Regions from separate parts of the Homo sapiens genome. Here regions 1 and 2 are each linked to region 3. The links are contacts of gene promoters, found by promoter capture Hi-C in human tissues and cell types (Jung and others, 2019). All regions are on one chromosome and are shown on one strand. The core of a region is centred on a gene start or on the middle of the fragment in contact, and the rest is flanking DNA. Distances in the headings are between cores, read along the strand shown.

Region 1 (3,404 bases), core at 48-2,547, 150 kb before region 3:
GTGTGTGTACAATTGTGTCTATGTGTGTCTGTGACTGTTCCTGGGTATATGTGTGTGCGTCCAACTGCGTCTGGCAGGGTTAGCATATGTGTACACAAATGGGTCTGTGTGTGTCCTCACCAGGGACTCTCTCACCTTGACCGAGGAGTCCGCGGATCCCAGGGCACCAGGAGGTTTCTTTCTTTCTTTTTTTTTTTTGAGATGGAGTCTTGCTCTGTCGCCCAGGCTGGAGTGCAGTGGTGCTATCTCGGCTCACTGCAAGCTCTGCCTTCCGGGTTCATGCCATTCTCCTGCCTCAGCCTCCCGAGTAGCTGGGACTACAGGCACCCACCACCACACCTGGCTAATTTTTTTTTTTTTTTTTTTGTATTTTTGGTAGAGACGGGATTTCACCATGTTAGCCAGGATGGTGTCGATCTCCTGACCTCGTGATCCGCCCGCCTCGGCCTCACAAAGTGCTGGGAGTACAGGCGTGAGCCATTGCACCCGGCCCAGGAGGTTTCATATCCATGCCAGGAGGGGCCCACAGGGCCTGGGGCAGCTGCTCAATTGGCAGCTGGGGCAGTGCCCTGTGAAGGCTCTGGGGTACCCTGCTTCTGTTCCAGCCCCCTACCCCCATCCCCAGTCCCTAGTAACTGGATCTTCTCTCTCCATCTCTCCCCTGGAAGGACCCAGTGCTTCCTGATTTGCATGATATTTACATACATTTGAATTTAGATCCCTGCTTCCCTGAGGCATACAGCATTATTCTCACTCCTGCCAGAGTAGTCAAGGAGGCTGTGGACTTCCTTAGCATAAGGGAGTCCAGGGATTAAGCTGGAGGGGCCCAACACCTCCCCTCTTCCCCATACAGAGTCAGCCTGGCTCTTTTCCTGCTCAAGATATGTGATTATTTAATTAATTAATTTATTTTTTGAGACTGTTTCACTCTGTCACCCAGGCTGGAGTGCAGTGGTGTGATCTTGGCTCACTGCAACCTCTGCCTCCTGGGTTCAAGTGATTCTCCTGCCTTAGCCTCTCAAGTACCTGGGATTACAGGCGCATGCCACCACACACAGCTACTTTTTGTATTTTTAGTGGAGATGGGGTTTCACCATGTCGGCCAGGCTGGTCTCGAACTCCTGACCTCAAGTGATCTGCCCGCCTCAGCCTCCCAAAGTGCTGGGATAACAGGTGTGAGCCACCGTGCCTGGTCATGTAATTATTGAGCACTTACTGTGTCAGTTTTTGTTTTTTTGAGACAGAGTCTTGCTCTGTTGTCCAGGCTGGAGTGCAGTGGCACAATCTCAGCTCTCAGCTCACTGCAATCTCCGCCTCCCGAGTTCAAGTGATTCTCCTCCCTCAGCCTCCTGGATAGCTGGGATTACAGGTGCCCGACATCACCCCTGACCAAGTTTTGTATTTTTAATAGAGACGGGGTTTCATCATGTTGGTCGGGCTGGTCTTGAACTCCTGATCTAAAGCTATCCACCTTCCTCCGCCTCCCAAAGTGCTGGGATTATAGGCGTGAGCCACCACACCCGGCCAGATTTTTTTTTTTAATTGAGATGAGGGTCTCCCTGTGTTGCCCAGGCTGGTCTCAAACTCCTGGGCTCAAGTGATCCTCCCACCTCAGCCTCCCAAAGTGCTGGAATTACAGGCATGAACTATACCGTGCCAGGACAGCAGATGCTTTCTATGCCCATTCATTTCAACCTCACAACAGCCCTTTACGGTATCTTTACATCCATTTTATAGATAGGAAAACAGGTTCAGAACAATTAAGTGACTTGGTTGAGACCACCCAGTAAGTAGGATTTGAACCCAGCTCTGGTGAACTTTCTGTTGACACGGCTGGAGTGTGGGCTTAGTAAGGGGGCCTAGGCACTTTCTTTCTTGGCTCCTGCCCTTGAGTAACAAACCTGGCTCTTGCTCTTTTGACTCAAGGGTCACTATGTCCCCTGGGGAGATAAGAGGAGCGGTAGTGGTGGTGGTGGTAGCAGACTATTTTTGTATTTTTAGTAGAGGTGGGGTTTCACCACGTTCGCCAGGCTGGTCTCGAACTCCTGACCTTGTGATCCACCTGCCTCAGCCTCCCAAAGCGCTGGGATTACAGGCGTGAGCCACCACGCCCAGTCTGCTAAGTGCTTTTCAAGCATTTTCTCAAACTGTCTTTCCCACAACCCTTTGTGAGTTACATCTTATTATAAATCGCATTTCACAGGTGAGAAAACTAGGGCACAGCGGCCAGGTGCGGTGGCTCACACCTGTAATCCCAGCACTTTGGGAGGCCGAGGCGCGTTGATCACGAGGTCAGGAGATCGAGACCATCCTGTCTAACACAGTAAAACCCCATGTCTACTAAAAATACAAAAAAATTAGCCGGGCGTGGTGGCAGGTGTCTGTAGTCCCAGCTACTCGGGAGGCTGAGGCAGGAGAATGGCGTGAACCCAGGAGGCGGAGCTTGCAGTGACGAGATGGTGCCACTGCACTCCAGCCTGGGCGACAGAGCGAGACCCTGTCTCAAAAAAAAAAAAAAAAAAAAAAGAAAAGAAAACTAGGGCACAGAGAGGTGAAGTGAGTAGCCCAAGATCACATAGCTAAGAAATGTTACAGGCAGACTCAAACTGAGATCTATCTGGGTCCAGAGTCTGTGCTTTTATTCTCTGTGTTGCACTGAACTGAACTATCAAGAAATGGAAATTCTAGCCGGGCACAGTGGCTCACGCTTATAATCCTAGCACTTTGGGAGGCTGAGGCATGTGAATTGCCTGAGCTCAGGAGTTCAAGATCATGCTGGACAACATAGTGAAATCTCTTCTCTGCTAAAACACAAAAACTTAGCCAGGTGTGGTGGTGGGTACCTGTAGTCCCAGCTACTCAGGATGCTGCGGCACGAGAATTGCTTGGGCCTGAGAGGTGGATGTTGCAGTGAGCTCAGCTGAGATCGTGTCACTGCACTCCAACCTGGGCAGCCTGGGCAGCAGAGCGAGACTCCGTCTCAAAAAAGAAAAAAGAAAAAGGACTGCCAACTCTGGCTGGCTGGGCTGGGCTGGGCTGGGCTGGGCAAGGTAAGTCAATCTCACCTCTCGTGGGGCTGGAGGATAGACACACCCCGCATTCTAGCCACGGCCACTCTCTGGGTCACTCCTCCCCTTTGAGCCTTAGTTTCCCATTTTTTGTTTTGTTTTGTTTTTGAGATGGAGTCTCACTCTGTCGCTCAGGCTGGAGTGCAGTGCAGGGCCAGGCACGGTGGCTCACGCCTGTAACCCCAGCACTTTGGGAGGCCGAGGTGGGCGGATCATGAGGTCAGGAGATCGAGACCATCCTGGCTAACACGGTGAAACCCCATCTCTACGAAAAATACAAAAAATAAGCCGGGCGTGGTGTCAGGAGCCTGTAGTCCCAGCTACTTGGGAGGCTGA
Region 2 (3,725 bases), core at 745-3,244, 200 kb after region 3:
AAAATTAGCTGAGTGTGGTGGCGAGCGTCTGTAATCCCAGCTACTGGGGAGGCTGAGGCAGGAGAATCACTTGAACTTGGAAGGCAGAGGTTGCAATGAGCTGATATTGTGCCATTGCACTCCAGCTTGGGCGACAGAGTGAGACTCAGTGTTTTTTTTTTGTTTTTTTTTTTTTGAGACGGAGACTCACTCTGTCGCCCAGGCTGGAGTGCAGTGGCCCAATCTCGGCTCACTGCAAGCTCTGCCTCCCGGGTTCACGCCATTCTCCTGCCTCAGCCTCCTGAGTAGCTGGAAATTCAGGTGCCCGCTACCACGCCCGGCTAATTTTTTGTATTTTTAGTATAGACGGAGTTTCACTGTGTTAGCCAGGATGGTCTGGATCTCCTGACCTCGTGATCTGCCCGCCTCGGCCTCCCAAAGTGCTGGGATTACAGGCGTGAGCCACTGCGCCCGGCCGACTCAGTCTTAAAAGAAAAAAAAAATTATTAAGGTAAAATTTACACAACATAAGCTTGACCATTTTAAAGTGAACAATTCAGTGGTATTTAATAGTACCTTTAAAATGCACAACCACCACCTTCATCTAGTTCTAGAACATTTCCATCACTGCAAAGCTGTCACTTCCGTTCCTCCTCCCCAGCTCCTGGCAATCAACAATCTGTTCTGTCTCTTTGGAGTTACCTATTCTGAATATTTCACATAGATGGAATCATACAGTGTGTGACTTTTTGTGTCTGGCTTCTTCCACTTAGCATATCATTTTAGAAGTCCATCCAGTGAGCATAATGTTTGTACCGTGTATCAGTACTTCATTCCTTTTATGGCTGATTAATATACCTTTGTATGTATACACCATAATTTGCTTTTATTCACCTATTGGTGGACATTTGGGCCTATCCACCTTTTGGCTATTGTGAATAGTGCTGTTGTAAACATGTGTGTACATGTATTTGTTTGAGTAGTGTTTTTAATTCTTTTTGGGTATATTCTCAATCCTCTCACCTTGGCCTCCTCAAATGCTACCATTACAGGCGTGAGCCACTGCACCTGGCCTCCTGTTTGCTGTCTTTTCGCTTTCTTTTCTTTCTTTCTTCCTTTCCTTTCCATTCCTGTCCTGTCCTATCCTGTCCTTTCCTCTTTTCCCTCCCCTCCCTTCACCTCCCTTCCTCTTACTTCCCCTCCCCTACTCTACCCTCCCTTTTTCCTTACCTTCCCCTTCCCCCTTCCTCTCCTTTCCTTTTGTATCTTGCTCTCTTACCCAGGCTGAATTGCAGTAGCACAATCATGGCTCGCTGCAGCCTCAACCTCCTGGGCTCCAGCGATCCTCCCATCTCAGCCTCCCATGTAGCTGGGACTATAGGCATGCGTCTACACAACCAGCTAATTTAACTGATTTTTTTTTTTTTTTTTGTAGAGAAGAGGTCTGACTATGTTGCCTAGGCTGGTCTCGAACTCCTGGCCTCAAGCAGTTCTCCCACCACAGCCTCCCAGAGTGCTGGGACTCTAGGCATGAGCCATCACACCTGGCCGTTTTCACTTTCTTAGTGGTATCTTTTAAGCACAAATGTTTTTAATTTTGATGACCTCTAATTTATCCATTTTTTTCTTTTGTCATTTATGCTTTTGGTGTTATATCTGTTAAATACACCACTGTTTAATGATAAATACAAGAAGAGAGGGGTGGAGCAGCTGCCAGAGCAGGGCCTTCTGAACCCCAGCAGTAGCACCCTTCTCTTTAACACTGCTGGTCCAGCTGGCAGATAGCTCACCTCCCAAGTGTGAATGAGGAGTATTTGGCCCCTAACTGAGCCTTGCACAAGGCACAGAACAATGTGATGTATATATATGGCAGTGCTTTGTAAGTATGTATAGCACACTGTTTGTCTAAGATGTCATTAGGCTGTGGGCATATTGGGGCAGGACAGTGGGCTGAGGAAGGATGCGGCCAGGCAGAATAGAAGAGCCCAGTGGCCTGCCAACTCTGCCTTTCTCACTCAGGCTTTTCTTGGTTGACAGGTTTGTCTCAGAGGCAGAGTTATTTGAGGCTGTGCAAAGCTTCCTCCTGTCGCTGCAGGACCAGGGCGAGCGCCCCCCACTGGTGGTCTTCAAAGCCTCCATCTATCTGCTTGCAATCTGCCAGGACAAAGACAATACACTACGTGAGGTATGGACCACAATGCCTGGGCTCCTTGTCCTTCTGTACCTCTTTACATTAGTGTTCCCTGGGAGACCATGATGATGATAGTGTATAGACAAGCGGGTGGTAGAGAGAGACAAAGCGGAGGTGTTAGGAGTGTGGAGAGGAGTAGGATGCAGACTCATACAGAGCCTGTATAATTTACCTAATTATCTCAGCCTTCCTGGGAGGAAGAGATTATTTGCATTCTACAGATAAGAAAATCGGGACTGAGGCTGGGCACGGTGGCTCACGTCTATAATCCCAGCACTTTGGGAGGCTGAGGTGGGCGGATCACTTGAGTTCGGGAGTGCAATGGTGTGATTTCGGCTCACTGCAACCTCCACCTTCTGGGTTCAAGCGATTCTCCTGCCTCAGCCAGGAGTTCAAGACCAGCCTGGGCAACATAGTAAGACCTTGTCTCTACAAAATATTAAAAATTAAAAAAAAACAACAACTCTTTGGTCACCTTTGGAGGATGCTATGCAACAAACTCATGTTTTTGAAAACTGGTAACCACAGGAAAAGAATCAAGCACTTAACCTATGTTTCCTATGTAATCTAATCTAACCCTTCAGAGTAACTGAATAGTTAATGAGGGGAAGTTTCCTTTTTTTTTTTTTTTTTTTTTGAGACGGAGTCTCGCTCTGTCACCCAGGCTGGAGTGCAGTGGCAGGATCGCTGTGGCAGGATCGCTGCTGACCACAACCTCCACCTCCTGGGTTCACGCCATTCTCCTGCCTCAGCCTCCTGAATAGCTGGGACTACTGGCGCCCGCCACCACACCCGGCTAATTTTTTGTATTTTTAGTAGAGACGGGGTTTCATCCTGTTAGCCAGGATGGTCTCAATCTCCTGACCTCGTGATCTGCCCGCCTCGGCCTCCCAAAGTGCTGGGATTACAGGCGTGAGCCACCGTGCCCGGCTGGAAGTTTCCTTTTATACAAGTATTTAAGTTAATAAACAGATAATGACAGAACTAGAATATTATTGTTTTGTAATCCCTAATTAATTAGTGGATCTAGGCAATGATCACCAGTGGCTGCTACTAGCACAAAGAGAGAGACAACAGGACATTGTGTGCCCAGGTGTGTCTTACTTGAAAACCCATTCACTTCCACTATGCCTTTCTGTTTCCACTCAAATTAAACCAGGTCTACTCTCATCACATTTGCCTCAACAGTAATCAAAAAGAGGCAAAATTAATAGTCAATGGAGGAAGAGTGCCTTTAGCTTTAGACTGAAGGGTCCACACTAAGGAACAGAAGCAATATTCTATGAAATAGGTGAGAGGTTCAGTGATGAATCAGACGTGGTCCTTGATTCCAGGAGTTTATAAGGAAGCTGGAGAGAGAAAACTTGTCCACACACAACCACCACGAAAGTGATCCAATAGCCTAATTAACAATGATCTGAGTCCCAGCAATCCACTTTCTTTAATAAACTGTTACCAGAAGAAGATACCAATACCTTAGAGCTCTTTGCTCCTGTACCAACCAGAGGTGGTACTAAGGAATGAGCCTTAGGAGTCAGTCAAGTCTGAGCTGGAG
Region 3 (3,694 bases), core at 853-3,352:
GCCTGGGCGACAGAGTGAGACTCCGTCTCAAAAAAAAAAAAAAAAAAGAAAGATATTATTGCTGGAGGAGAGGAAGGCAAAGAAGAAAGAAGAGACGATGTTATCCCAGCACTTTGGGAGGCCAAGGTAGGAGGATCGCTTGAGGCCAGGAGTTTGAGACTAGCCTGGGCAACATAATGAGACCCCATCTCTATAAAAATTTTTTGAAAACTTAGCCAGGCATGGTGGTGCACCCCTGTAGTCCCAGCTACTCATGAGGCTGAGGCGGGAGGATCATTTGAGCCCAGGAGTTGGAAGCTGCAGTGAACTGTGATTGAGCCACTGCATTCTAGCCTGGGTAACAAAGCAAGACCCTGTTTCAAAAAAGAAAAAATAAATAAATAAAAAGGAGGAAAGAGAGAGGAGAATTTAAAGGGGAAGGGAGGCTCCTCTGGGTAGAGTTCTCAGGTGGGGCTGTGAAATAAAATCAGAACCCTGGCTGGGCGCGGTGGCTCACGTCTGTAATCCCAGCACTTTGGGAGGCTGAGGTGGGTGGATCACGAGGTCGGGAGATCGAGACCATTCTGGCCAACATAGTGAAACCCTGTCTCTACTAAAAATACAAAAAAATTAGCTGGGTGTGGTGGTGTGTGTCTGTAGTCCCAGCTACTCAGGAGGCTGAGGCAGGAGAATCGCTTGAACCCGGGAAGCGGAGGTTGCAGCGAGCTGAGATCAAGCCACTGCCCTCCAGCCTGGGCGACACAGCAATACTCTCTAAAAAAAATAATAATAATTCAGAACATCCCCAGGTAACCACAGGCAGCATTTCTCAACAGTCTCTCCTGCAGAACCAGAAACCCAGACTGTCTGAGCCTGATTGTCCTGAGAGGTTCTGGAAGGGCAGGGGCGTGTGGTGACACTGGGTGCTCCTGGGTTCCAGTACCTCTCTAGCCAGTTGGAAGAATATAGGCAAGTCAAGTCCTTCCTCCTCCCTGAGCCTCTAATTCCTCACCGGTAAAGTAGGGATGATAAAAATAAATTATTAAATTGTTGTGAGGTTTCAATGAGGGCAAAGCTTGCTGCCTGAAACAGAGCAAGCTCTTGTGGCGTCTTAGCTATTTGTATTAGTTACTTGTATTTTTCTCTGCGGTTTCCCTTTTAACTCCCACCTCCTTTTTATTTTAAAAAGACTCCTTTTGAAAATGCCAGCCTGCCTCAGTAGTACCAGGAGACACCAGGGAAAGGCTTCCTTCTTTCCAAGCTGAGGCTGAGAAGGAATGGGAAGAACGAAGAGAAGCACCTTTGTGGAGGCCTCCTCCAGCTGGCCCTGGGTTTAGGAACATCACACACTCAACCTCCAAAGGCCCTCAGGGGCTGGCCCAAGGTCACACAGCTTGACAGTGCGGAGCACTTCGAAGCCAGGGCGTGTGGTGTAGAACAGGCTGGGTGCCTGAATTCAATCAGCCCTCTCTACTTCTCTACTCAGAGCCTCCCAGGCTGTGGGGTGTTCACCTGTGCACCTTCAAGCCGATCACTTCCTTGGGGTCCTCGTCAATTCAATTCCATGGAAATATTACAAGGGGTAGACAGAGATGAGCCGTGTCAGTGTCTGTACTAGCAGAGGGCAGGACCACTGAGCGTCCGGAGGGGAGACGAGTGTCTGGGTGTCCCTGGGAACCTGGCTTGTCTCGACCCCTCTGGGGGGCTCCTCTTGGCTCTGACCTCCATTCTCCCAGACTCACCCCCACTCATGCCCACCCACCCCGAGGGGCCCCCCAGTGTGCACTCACACACTCACACTCAAACTCACCACCCCACTTGCTCTCTAATTACCAGGAACGTGGCGCTGTCTCAGGTTCTTCCTCCCCTGCATTCCTCAGCAGCTGCCCTCACTGGGCAGGGCAAATTATACCGTGGCCCGACCATAAAAGCCACTTTCCAAAAAAAGAAGCTTTAAGGCCCCCGAGAGACGCAGCTGAGCCTCTCACCTGGCAGTGCCTGACTCAGGAGGTGATGTCTGGGCCATGAGCCACAGAGCCTGGTGTCCCTTTAAGCAGGGAGTACAAATTCTCATCCCTCCCTCCTGCTCTCCCTGACGTCAGCTGGAAGGCGTGTGAGTGAGTGAGGGGCTGAGGTACCGCCCGCGCGAGCACACACAGACACACACACACACACACACACACACACACACACACATCTTCCAGACCCATCCCCTGCCTGCCAGCTCCACGAGCCAGAGAGAGACAGAGCGCGGACGCCGCAGGAGGCAGTGCCTGGACCCCAGCTGCCCAGGAGAGGTGAGGGGCTAGATGGGGCCTGAGGACACTGTGCCAGAAACTGTGGCTTTGGCCAGGCCGAAGGAGAGAGGTACAACGTGAAGGTGGGGGCTGGATCAGCCCAGTTCAGCTTACAGATAGGGTGTTGGGGGTATAGAGGATACCACCTGTCTCTCCCTCCCTCATTCTCTCCCCGTGACCCCCAAATGAGGTGAGGCCGTGTGGCTCCCGTGGGAGCATGTCTGTGTCTGTGTCTGTGTCTGTGTCTGGGACCTGCGTCTGGCTCAGGAGGCAGAGAGCAGCAGATACCTGCCAAGCCGCAGCCTCCTGTCTGGGAAGCAGCGGGAGAGAGGACCGCCTTGACCAGAGAAACCCCAGTGCCGCTTCCAGTTGCTGAAAGCAGAGTGCAGCAGGGACCCTTGCTGGTCCTTCCCCTGGAATGTTGGGCTGGGAAGGGACCGGCTGGGAAAGGCAGACAGTTGGACCTGGAGCAGCTGTCTTATCCTGACTCTATTTTTTCCCCAGTGTGATGGGGATAATTGTGTTAGTTGGCTTAGAGAGGTGGCTCCGTGTGGTTATTCTCTTCCCCCAGGTACCACCCCACCCCGAGCCCTTGCTTCTTGCCTGCCTGCTGGTCTGCTCTGACCTCCACCCTTGCCAGGGCACAGCCCCCGGAGGGCAGGGGTGATAAGTCAGGGCCTGCCAGGCCTCTATCTTGGGATACAGGGACTTAGGGTGGCCTTGGCTGGTGCCAAGCCCATGAATGGCCTGACCCTGGCACAAGGAGTCCAGGCGGAGATAAGGGGCGACGCTGGCACCCACAAGGAGACAGCAGGTTCCTGCCAAGCTGCCAGCCTGCAGGCTCTTCCCAGGGAGAGGGGAGGGGGACACAGAGCGAGAACAATAATAAATACAGAGTGTGAACTGCTGCATCCACTGGGGCTGGGGTAGGAGAGGAGGAAGTATGCCCAGTGGGGGGTGGGCAACCTCTCTGAGAGCCTGGCATCATGCTGCCTGGCTGTGATCCGGCAGGGGCCTCTCCCTGGGAAAGGGGGTCTCCAGCTTTCTGGGGGATGGGGAACTGGTTTCCCAAACCTGACTCCATCCCAGAGTCCTCTGGACCCTCCAAATTCTGAATGTTTCCTCCTCCCAGCTTTGCCCTGCCGCCCCCCATTTCCTTGAAGTCTTCTCCAAAAATGTCTGTTTTCTGTGTCTGCCCATCTTGACCCATCCTCACCCCCTTCAAAAAAAAAAAAAAAGACAGGTATAGACAGGAACTGCCTGCCCGTGTCCTGGGAAAGGCCAGAGGACAGTTTTGGCCACAGATGGCTCTCCCAGGCTTGGAGAGACATGGCTAGGCAATGTTCACGGATGCGCAGGGGGATTCCCTGAGGGGGACTTGGGGACACTCTCAGATGGCTGGTGGGGAGGGGACACCT

The links. The method cuts DNA at HindIII sites, captures the fragments that hold promoters and counts their contacts. A contact is called where the count stands out against the background at its distance.
Region 1: a contact is called between a fragment that was not itself captured here and the fragment with the promoter of CSDC2 in region 3, in 1 of the 25 tissues and cell types used here (aorta).
Region 2: a contact is called between a fragment that was not itself captured here and the fragment with the promoter of CSDC2 in region 3, in 2 of the 25 tissues and cell types used here (pancreas and thymus).

The regions. Positions count from the first base shown.
Region 1 is chr22:41,405,885-41,409,288 of GRCh38, forward strand. No RefSeq gene overlaps it. Among named protein-coding and RNA genes, the nearest start is that of TEF, 26 kb to the left of the region's middle. RefSeq lists a silencer at 2,468-2,517. The HindIII fragment of the contact is 5,819 bases long and covers 1-3,404 here.
Region 2 is chr22:41,761,158-41,764,882 of GRCh38, forward strand. It overlaps MEI1 (meiotic double-stranded break formation protein 1), which reads left to right. Exons shown (of 31, transcript NM_152513.4): 19 at 2,017-2,164. Among named protein-coding and RNA genes, the nearest start is that of CCDC134, 38 kb to the right of the region's middle. The HindIII fragment of the contact is 7,279 bases long and covers 1-3,725 here.
Region 3 is chr22:41,558,908-41,562,601 of GRCh38, forward strand. CSDC2 (cold shock domain containing C2) reads left to right here and starts at 2,103. Exons shown (of 4, transcript NM_014460.4): 1 at 2,103-2,276. LOC105373044 (a long non-coding RNA gene) reads right to left here and starts at 1,976. Exons shown (of 2, transcript NR_134631.1): 1 at 1,813-1,976. The HindIII fragment of the contact is 6,219 bases long and covers 1-3,270 here.